Linked DNA regions of Homo sapiens: region 1 is linked to region 2. Evidence: promoter capture Hi-C in 16 types of primary human blood cells and fetal thymus (Javierre and others, 2016). All regions are on one chromosome and are shown on one strand. Each heading gives the region's core, a stretch centred on a gene start or on the middle of the fragment in contact. The rest is flanking DNA. Distances are from core to core; before and after follow the strand shown. Region 1 has its middle 25 kb from the start of ETS2. Region 2 holds the start of LCA5L (lebercilin LCA5 like).

Region 1 (5,307 bases), core at 2,164-4,663, 610 kb before region 2:
AACTCCTAAAATCAAGGGATCCTTCTGCTTTGGCCTCTTAAAGTGCTGGGATTATAGGCATGAGCCACTGCACCTGGTCTTGCCACAGTTTTTCTGAAACTTAGAAGAAAAGAGGAAAGGGAAGGGAAATAAGTATTTAGAGAAATCATTTTTCGGAACATCTTCAAAACTGGGATTGTGCAGAGATGAAGTCATGGGGCCTGCCTGCCCGCCTTTTCCATGGCGGGGAAGAAGCAGAATTACATTTCCGTCAGTTCTGCCCCACATCCTGGCTCTCCCCCATGTCCTGGCTCTCCCCAACATCACTCAACCAGCTTTATTTATTTATTTGTTTATTTATTTATTTATTTATTATACTTTAAGTTTTAGGGTACATGTGCACATTGTGCAGGTTAGTTACATACGTATACATGTGCCATGCTGGTGTGCTGCACCCACTAACTCGTCATCTAGCATTAGGTATATCTCCCAATGCTATTCCTCCCCCCTCCCCCCACCCCACAACAGTCCCCGGAGTGTGATGTTCCCCTTCCTGTGTCCATGTGTTCTCATTGGTTCAATTCCCACCTGTGAGTGAGAATATGCGGTGTTTGGTTTTTTGTTCTTGTGATAGTTTACTGAGAATGATGATTTCCAATTTCATCCATGTCCCTACAAAGGACATGAACTCATCATTTTTTATGGCTGCATAGTATTCCATGGTGTATATGTGCCACATTTTCTTAATCCAGTCTATCATTGTTGGACATTTGGGTTGGTTCCAAGTCTTTGCTATTGTGAATAATGCCGCAATAAACATACATGTGCATGTGTCTTTATAGCAGCATGATTTAGAGTCCTTTGGGTATATACCCAGTAATGGGATGGCTGGGTCAAATGGTATTTCTAGTTCTAGATCCCTGAGGAATCGCCACACTGACTTCCACAATGGTTGAACTAGTTTACAGTCCCACCAACAGTGTAAAAGTGTTCCTATTTCTCCACATCCTCTCCAGCACCTGTTGTTTCCTGACTTTTTAATGATGGCCATTCTAACTGGTGTGAGATGGTATCTCATTGTGGTTTTGATTTGCATTTCTCTGATGGCCAGTGATGGTGAGCATTTTTTCATGTGTTTTTTGGCTGCATAAATGTCTTCTTTTGAGAAGTGTCTGTTCATGTCCTTCGCCCACTTTTTGATGGGGTTGTTTGTTTTTTTCTTGTAAATTTGTTTGAGTTCATTGTAGATTCTGGATATTAGCCCTTTGTCAGATGAGTAGGTTGCGAAAATTTTCTCCCATTCTGTAGGTTGCCTGTTCACTCTGATGGTAGTTTCTTTTGCTGTGCAGAAGCTCTTTAGTTTAATTAGATCCCATTTGTCAATTTTGTCTTCTGTTGCCATTGCTTTTGGTGTTTTAGACATGAAGTCCTTGCCCATGCCTATGTCCTGAATGGTAATGCCTAGGTTTTCTTCTAGGGTTTTTATGGTTTTAGGTCTAACGTTTAAGTCTAATCCATCTTGAATTGATTTTTGTATAAGGTGTAAGGAAGGGATCCAGTTTCAGCTTTCTACATATGGCTAGCCAGTTTTCCCAGCACTATTTATTAAATAGGGAATCCTTTCCCCATTGCTTGTTTTTCTCAGGTTTGTCAAAGATCAGGTAGCCGTAAAAAAGAGAATTTTAGACCAATATCCTTGATGAACATTGATGCAAAAATCCTCAGTAAAATACTGGCAAACCAAATCCAGCAGCACATCAAAAACCTTATCCACCATGATCAAGTGGGCTTCATCCCTGGGATGCAAGGCTGGTTCAATATACGCAAATCAATAAATGTAATCCAGCATATAAACAGAGCCAAAGACAAAAACCACATGATTATCTCAATAGATGCAGAAAAGGCCTTTGACAAAATTCAACAACCCTTCATGCTAAAAACTCTCAATAAATTAGGTATCGATGGAACATATTTCAAAATAATAAGAGCTATCTATGACAAACCCACAGCTAATATCATACTGAATGGGCAAAAACTGGAAGCATTCCCTTTGAAAACTGGCACAAGACAGGGATGCCCTCTCTCACCACTCCTATTCAACATAGTGTTGGAAGTTCTGGCCAGGGCAATTAGGCAGGAGAAGGAAATAAAGGGTATTCAATTAGGAAAAGAGGAAGTCAAATTGTCCCTGTTTGCAGATGACATGACTGTATATCCAGAAAACCCCATTGTCTCAGCCCAAAATCTCCTTAAGCTGAGAAGCAACTTCAGCAAAGTCTCAGGATACAAAATCAATGTGCAAAAATCACAAGCATTCCTATACACCAACAACAGACAAACAGAGAGCCAAATCATGAGTGAACTCCCATTCACAATTGCTTCAAAGAGAATAAAATACCTAGGAATCCAACTTATAAGGGATGTGAAGGACCTCTTCAAGGAGAACTACAAACCGCTGCTCAAGGAAATAAAAGAGGATACAAACAAATGGAAGAACATTCCATGCTCATGGGTAGGAAGAATCAATATCGTGAAAATGGCCATACTGCCCAAGGTAATTTACAGATTCAATGCCATCCCCATCAAGCTACCAATGCCTTTCTTCACAGAATTGGAAAAAACTACTTTAAAGTTCATATGGAACCAAAAAAGAGCCCGCATCACCAAGTCAATCCTAAGCCAAAAGAACAAAGCTGGAGGCATCACACTACCTGACTTCAAACTACACTACAAGGCTACAGTAACCAAAACAGCATGATACTGGTACCAAAACAGAGATATAGATCAATGGAACAGAACAGAGCCCTCAGAAATAACACCCTACCAGCTTTCTTTCCTGATAGGGCTCCAGAACTCCACATGGTGGACACTTGTCACTGGGAATGATTCAGGCTTTAATGGGGCTGCTGGGCGGGAGCACAGGGCTTGAGGGCCAGAGGAAGTGGAGCAGGAACTGTGGCAAGAGGTAGAGGGAGCAAGCTGCCCCATCACCTCTCCTGAAATATCAAGCAAGTTAACAGGAGGATTTGTTGTGATTTGGAGATGGACCTTGGATTATCACTGTCACTGGGTCTGTCAGGCACTATTTGTGACCTTGGGTATGCAATTTAATCACTCTCTGCCTCAGTTTCCCCTCCATAAAGCCAGGTCATTTGTGGCTGTTGGGGGGATTGATCTATTGGGGGTATAAGATTGTGTAAAGTCAGTAACCTGGGATGGGGGTGCTATTTGAACAGAGCACGCCAAGGAAGGTGTGTTTGAGCCAGGGGATCTGCAAAGAAAATATGGATCCCAGACAATCATGTCTCCATTTTCATCAGAAGAAATCCAGGGGCAGAGTTCAGTGATGAAACAAGTACTTAACTGAACCAAGACTCAAACCCTGGTCTTCTGTTTTCTGGTGTTGTCCTCTGGCCAAAATAACCCTGTCATGTTTGGTTGAAGTCATTATAAATGCTGCCCCAGATGCTACCTAGGGCTCCTTCAAGTTTCTAGTTCCTCCTTCCACAAACCAGAGGCCACAGCCCTTGATTTGAATTTTAAATTATCAGGAACCTCCTACCCAAAGAACACACAGCCCTCATTTACAGCAGCTGCTGGCAGCTAGCTGAGTTCGAACAGATGCAAGAATCTCATAATCTGGGCCAGATATTAATCTGTCTTTTCTGTAACAGCAAAACAGAAGGGTGAGTCTTGAAGCAGTGCAGGGGGAAACCCCTTATTGTGCAACTCTTTTGTAACTCCTGGGCGGAGTCTGGACATGTGACTTCTGCTTGAAATTTAACATTAGGGGAAAGACCATTTTTGGTCATAGCTGAGGTGATGACATCTTGGCAACTGGAATGGACATGACCTCTGTTCCATGTACTATGAGTAACTGCCCCCTCCCCATTTCTCAAAGTCATGTTCAGATGGCAAAACTGCCTGGGATTACCACATCTGACTCTTGCTAGCTGTTTCTGTGTCTATGGCTTCATACTGTCCAGACATAGACCTGGGGCTCAGCACACATGTATGTTTGAGTGGCATAAGGTCAGAAGCACAGATCCAGCAAAGACTGTGGCCCGGAGGAAGGTGGGTTGGTTGGAGGAAAGAAAGTGGAGGTGGGAGCAAACGAAGATAAGTAAACAAAAAAATGAGCTCTTAAGCAAAAAAGATTGCCTGTCTGCTGTAGCCTGTAAAGCTCTGATGAGAAACACTTTTATGATTTGCTGGTAAACTCCACCCAATTTGGTTCTGGAAGAGGTTATTTTTCATTGCAGTGTAAGCATGTAATTAGTTAATTGGGAAATATGGCGCCATTTTCAAAGCTCACTTTCATCTGTCATCTCACTTACACCTCCCTGTGACCCTGGGAGATTGGTTTTATTATGCCCATTTTACAGATGTGGAAACTGAAGCTCGGAGAGGTGAACCCCCTAAAAAGAAATTGGAGAGGCTTATCCTGACTCATCCGTGGTCCCTGATTCCTTGTGCCTGAGATGCAGACTGTGGCTTGGGAATAGGGGAGGGCTCAGAGGGCTGGAGCTCAGCTGAGTGGCCGGATGTTCCCTCACAGGGTACCCTCCTTTGGCTTCCTGTTGACCCTAGTAGTTGTCAATAGTGCTGCAGGTGCTCCACGCCTTCCCACCCTCTGGATGAAGCTCATCCTAAGGAATTAGCATCTCATTTCTAATTCTCAGGTCCTCAGGAATCAGACTTGTATTTTGGGTCAAATTTGCATACCTTGGGGCTTCTGTTTTCTCAAGCTATGTATGGACCCCAGAGCAAATCCCAACCATGGTTCAATATCAGCCTCTGGGAATCTGCAGATCACTGGAAGCCAGGCTGCCCACGCTTTCTGGAAGCCACTTCCTAGTGAAGGAGCCCTGGAGGAAAGAGGCAATGGTATAGGAGTCTCCCTAAAGTGAGAAGTGTGGAGCCCAGCACTTCAACTATGTCTGTGGGTGGAGCCAAAATAACCAGTTGCTCCTGATCGCTGCATGTCAGCAATTGTATCACAACAAGAGGCCACAGGGCATCACCCTACCCAACACTGTGATGGGGGCCGGGGTCACATGTGCTTAAGTGTCTCTGTAAATCAGCCCTTCAGTTGGGATTAAGACAGTTCAGGATCCCAAGAACACACATGCACACACACAACCCACTTGCACATACATGTGTGCAGTCACACTTCCAGAGACACACATAGACATACATATGTATACACACATGTGCGTGTGTGCACACAGGTATTCACATGCACACACACACGCACACTTATACACTAACACACATGTGCATATGTGCACGCATGCACACACACACACACACCCCACTCCTTTTGCT
Region 2 (5,276 bases), core at 1,116-3,615:
GGCGAGTGGAAAGCGATGGGATCCAAAGCACGGAGAGGGAGTGGCCTTGGTTAGGAGGAGGAAGGAAGGTAGGAACAGATATAAGTAAGGCTTGCAGTTTTGGGAGCTGAAGAATGAGGGGATTCCCATGTGACAGCTTCAAGCTTCTCTATGAAGTGACAGCACAAGGGCGTGGTGGGAGATCAAATCTGAGGAAAATGGTCATTTATGAAATGCAATCTCCTACAGACCCTCAGCTAACCGTGGCAATCCTACTCTGTTACTTTGGTTAATTGGGGTTTTACCTGATGGCAAAAGAGAAAAGATGGGGCTAGGAGTTTAAGAGAGTGGCAAGGGTAGGGCCGGGCGCAGTGGCTCACGCCTTTAATCCCAGCACTTTGGAAGGCCGAGGCAGGCAGATTACCTGAGGTCAGGAGTTTGAGACCAGCCTGGCCAACATGGTGAAACCCCATCTCTACTAAAAATACAAAAATTAGCTGGGCATGGTGGCGTACACCTGTAATCCCAGCTACTCAGGCCGAGGCAGGAGAATTGCTTGAGCCCAGAGATGGAGGTTGCAGTGAGCCGAGATCTTGCCACTGCACTCCAGCCTGGCCGACAGAGTAAGGCTCTGTCTTAAAAAAAAAAAAAACAACAAAAAAAGAGAGATTGGCTAGGGGCCTTAGCTCCTTGAGGGCAGGGACCTGTCACATTGATCGCGGTATCAGCACCCAGGTACTTACTATTCAAAATGATCAGCATACGGATGATCATTTGTCTGCATCTCAGTTTGCCTCTTTTGGTGCTTCTCTAAAAAATAAAAAAGGAAGAGCTTAAACTCCTACATGATTCCTGTCTTTGCGCTGGGAAGAAGGCTCTGGGTTCTTTTGTTCTTCAGGACAGTCCCTTGTAAAGCTCTTGCCATAGTTCTGTTCCAGGGGCACTGTCATATTTATACCTAACAAAGCTAAGGGGTGTCTTTACATTTTTAGCTTGTTAGCAGGATGCTTATATGGCCTTGCTGACCCGGTTTAAAAGTTGCAATTTGCAAAATACATACTGAAAATACTGCACTTTTACCTATGGAAGTTGTAATTTATATAAGGAAATTGTAATTTATATAATCCTTTAAAAAACTTACTCATACGAAATAACAGAGAACGGGGAAATACCATTAAGACTGTCATGCTCAAGTGGGGGAGGGGCAGACTCAGGGAAACCAATTAGGAAGCAAGTAAAATAATCCACGCACCAGATGATGGGGGCCTGGACCAAGGTGGTGACAGTGGCGGTTGAGAGAAATGGTAGAATTGTGAATCTATTCTGGGTGCATTTTGAAGGCAGTGCTGACAGACTGAAGGTGAGGAAGAGAAAAACAGGACTCAAACAGGATGCAAGACTCGGGCAACTGGAGGATGGAATTTCCAGCAACTATGATGGATTAAGATTGTGGGAGGACAGGCTTGGCTTGGGGAATTATTGAGCGCTATCTTGGACGAGCTGTGTTTGAGATGCCGTAGACATCCAAGTAGGGATGTGGCAGGCAGCTAAATGCAGGGATCTGGTGTTCAGGGGAGGGGCGAGGGCTGGGAATGCACACTTGGGGCTCACTGGAATTCAGATAGGCTCTGAGTACAGGCGACTGGATGAGTTCATCTAGGGATTGAGTGTAGACAGAAAAAAGGCTCAAGCTCACATTCAGCCGTGAAAACTGGTCTCTGAAAAAAGTTAACCGTTGGCTTAAGTGTGGCAACGAAACGTTAACACGCTGAGGGGAGGGTGTGGATAAAGAGCCCCGAGGCTGGGTGAGTGGGGGACAAACACAGACAGAGAAGACATTTCAAAAGATTTAGATTCCTACGAGATAGGGAGATGCCAGCGCTAAGGTTAGAAAGAAAAACTAATCCAAAGCAAAACAGCAAGTAAGCAGAGGCAAAATCGGAGGTCAGATAGAAGATTCAGATAGAAAAACCCCAAAGTTCCCTCGGTGGGGCGGCGGTGAGATCGGCCTCCGCCCCCTCGCCAGACCCAGGCGCGGCCCCGGGAGCGCTAGGTCACCTCGGCCCAGGCCGTCCCCCTGCCCAGCGGGCCTGAGAGTACGTGTGTCGCCGGGGCGCCCGGTCACTGCCGAGCCGGGGTAGCTGTTCCTTGGCAAACTGTGCCGCGAGGAGGAAACGGCGGGGCGCCAGCGAGGCAGGCAGGGGCGAGGACTGAGTGACCGGCGATACTGGAAGCCCAGAAAGAGCGTAGCAGGAGGGTCCGGAAGGGCCCAGAGCTGGGGCTGTAACAGGGTAACCGGCTGAGGGGGACGACGGCAGCAGCGGGGCCGTTACCTGCTCCGCGCTGTTCCCACGACTGCGCCAACGCCGCAGCGCCGGCGCGTCCCCATGGAAACCCGCGCGCGGGGCCTCCTGGGAAGCGCCGGCCTGCGGGGGCTGGGCGCGCGCATGCGCACTCGGGCAGCAGGAGCCGCGGCGGGGAGGGGCGTCTTGGGCCTGGAGGTCAGTGTGGCCTCGCGTTTGTCTTCGGTGACGGGAAGTGAGTTTCTTGTGTAGACGTCTGTAAACGATCCTCCTGCCGTCCCTGTTCGGCGCCCGGGACCCTGCCTTCCCGCGTGGCCGCACCGAGACGAGGGAGCCTGTCACGCGCTCTGGCGCTCTCCTGACCTCTTAAGGCTCTGTCAGTCTTAGGTAACTTGAGTCAGTAGGTGGGTGTAGACGCCTGGTCAATTCCTGGGAAGCACAGTTCCCCTATTAACCCCTTGTCATAAAGACGATTTTTTTTTTTTTTTTGTAAAACAAAATCTGATGACAAAACAATGCATGTTTGGCATAGAGAATTTAGAAATGTACAGGCAAGTCCAAAGCAAAAGTCAAAATCACCTAGATGATGGAGTTATAGATGTTTTTTAATGACAGCATAGGAATTTGGCATAATTTAGGAAGACTTACATTGTTTCCTTTTATTTATTTACTTTTTTTCCTGCATCAAAGCCATGTTGAATATCCTTGCAGATGAATCTTTGAGGTCACCCCTGACTGTTTCCTTAGGATAAATTCCTACAAGCGAGGTTGCAGGGCCAAAGCATATGCTCACTTTGAGGCTTTCTAAAGGTAGAGGGAAACTGCCTTCCAGTAAGTGTCCCGATACTTGGCCCGCATTGGAAATTCTCTTTTTTCTTAAAATTTTTTTGCCCATTTTATTGTCAAAAATTGGCATCTTTAATTGTATTCACTTCCTTTTTAGTAGGAAGAATAGACTTTTTCCCATATCTTGAGTGCCATTTGTCCTTATTGTGTGATTTGCATTTTCCTGTCTTTTGTCCATTTTAAAACTTGACATTCATCTTTGTAAAAATGGGTTTTGTAAGGACTTTTGATGCTTGAAAACTTGGCTTGTGATATACGTTGCAAATATTTCCTCAATTTGTCAGTTACCTTTAATTTTGTTTACAGTGTATTTTGGTATTTGTGTAGAGTCAAGCTTATTACATTTCTCTATAGTTTCTGCATTTGGTTTTTATATAAAAGGAGAAACGGGTGTTTTTTTTCAAATTGACTTTAATCCTACTTTGGTAGAAGTGGGTTAGGACAAGCTTTCTCTCCATATCACCATTTCTTCCTCTAGAAATGCATGACCCACCCTGAGTTTTGGTGGGCCATGCATTTCTAGAACTCCTTAGGTAGGGAATTATCCGTATAAGATGGGTGCCGGTTGTTTTTGCTGGTGGTGGTGGGCGGGGCAACATCTCCAGGTAGGCAAACATTAGACAAATGTCACTCTAGACTTGACATTATGGAAAGATGGGCTGATGCTTGGTGGGTGGTGGTGGCCCCATGACAGTAACGAGAGCGGAGTTTTGCCATTGCGGGAGCATCCAACCCTGGAGCTCATGACTGGAGGAATTGAAAGGTAGAGTTTCCTGAGAATGGTTTCCTCCTCTTTTCTACCAGCTTTTCCCAGTCTGTAGACATGATAAGTCACTGCAAATCTGCCCTTGAATCTTTCTTTGCTTTCGCTTTTGCTTTTTTTTTTTTTTTTTTTTGAGACGTATCACTCTATCGCTCAGGCTGGAATGCAGTGGCGCCATCCCAGCTCACCACAACCTCCGCTTCCTGGGTTCAGGTGATTCTCCTGCATCAGCCTCCTGAGTAGCTGGGATTACAGGTGTGAGTCACAACACCCGGCTAATTCTTTTTGTATTTTTAGTAGAGATGGGGTTTTGCGATGTTGGCTAGGCTGGCCTTGAACTCCTGACCTCAAGTGATCTGCCCGCCTCGGCCTCCCAAAATGTTGGGATTTCAGGCATAAGCCACCGTGCCTGGCCTTTGCTTTTGCTTTCGAAGGGGTGTTCTTTTCTGTGTACACAATGGAAGGAGAAGAGCCATGGCCTTTCACTATTCTGGGGCCATCTCCATCATGCCACATAAAAAGCATAGCCTTTATTTCTCTATATTAGGTTCCTAGGTTCCTAGGGATGTCATAACAGACTACCACGAACTTAGGGGCTTAGAACAATAGAACTTTATCTTCTCACATTTCTGGAGGTCAGAAGTATGAAACCAAGTTGTCTGAAAGTCCATGTTTCCTCTGAAGGCTCTTAGGGAGAATTTTTTGAGTCTTCCAGCTTATGGGGACTCCTGCTATTCCTTGGCTTGTGGCAGCACCACTCCAATTTCTGCTTCCATCTTCACAGGGTGTTCTTCTCTGTGTCTCCCTGTCTTGTCTTCTTATAAGGACAACCAGTCATTGGACTTAGGGCCCACCCTAAATCCAGGATGATTTAATCACAAGACCCCCTCAACTGATTACATCTGTAAAGACTCTATTTCCAAATAAGGTTACATGCTGAGGTTTGGCTGAACATGAATTTTGGTGAACAATATTCAACCCACTACAGTTATTATGGTAATCATTTCCATCATTCTACATAATAAAGACGTGTCTTTATTTGTCATTTTAAGTTATCTGTAAAGTTATGTAAATCAAAACATATCATCTGGTATCATTTATCATGAGATCATCTGGGGGTCTCTATGAAGTTTGTAGCCCAGTACCTCATGTCTTTAAATCAAAATTAATCAAATCAAAAAGTGATGTTATTTGACTTGTTAAAATATACTCCAACAGACGGACAAAATGAACTCCTGTTTCCTAAAATGAGATGCACCAAAAACAGAATGTCCTACTCGGGAGGCTGAGGCAGGAGATGAATGTGGGAGGTGGAGGTTGCAATGAGCTGAGATCAAGCCACTGCACTCCAGCCTGGTGACAGAAACAAACAAAAAACAAACAAC

The links. The method cuts DNA at HindIII sites, captures the fragments that hold promoters and counts their contacts. A CHiCAGO score of 5 or more calls a contact.
Region 1: a contact is called between a fragment that was not itself captured here and the fragment with the promoter of LCA5L in region 2, in 1 of 17 cell types (naive CD8 T cells). The highest score is 6.0, in naive CD8 T cells.

Annotation. Positions count from the first base shown.
Region 1 is chr21:38,827,982-38,833,288 of GRCh38, forward strand. No RefSeq gene overlaps it. Among named protein-coding and RNA genes, the nearest start is that of ETS2, 25 kb to the left of the region's middle. RefSeq lists enhancers at 3,360-4,559, 3,549-3,738. The HindIII fragment of the contact is 9,742 bases long and covers 1-5,307 here.
Region 2 is chr21:39,443,413-39,448,688 of GRCh38, forward strand. LCA5L (lebercilin LCA5 like) reads right to left here and starts at 2,366. Exons shown (of 11, transcript NM_152505.4): 1 at 2,313-2,366; 2 at 723-789. All of the region lies in intron 8 of GET1-SH3BGR (GET1-SH3BGR readthrough), which reads left to right. MIR6508 (microRNA 6508) reads left to right here and starts at 3,598; the gene lies at 3,598-3,657. It also overlaps a transcript of SH3BGR not described here. RefSeq lists a silencer at 2,277-2,536. The HindIII fragment of the contact is 3,319 bases long and covers 142-3,460 here.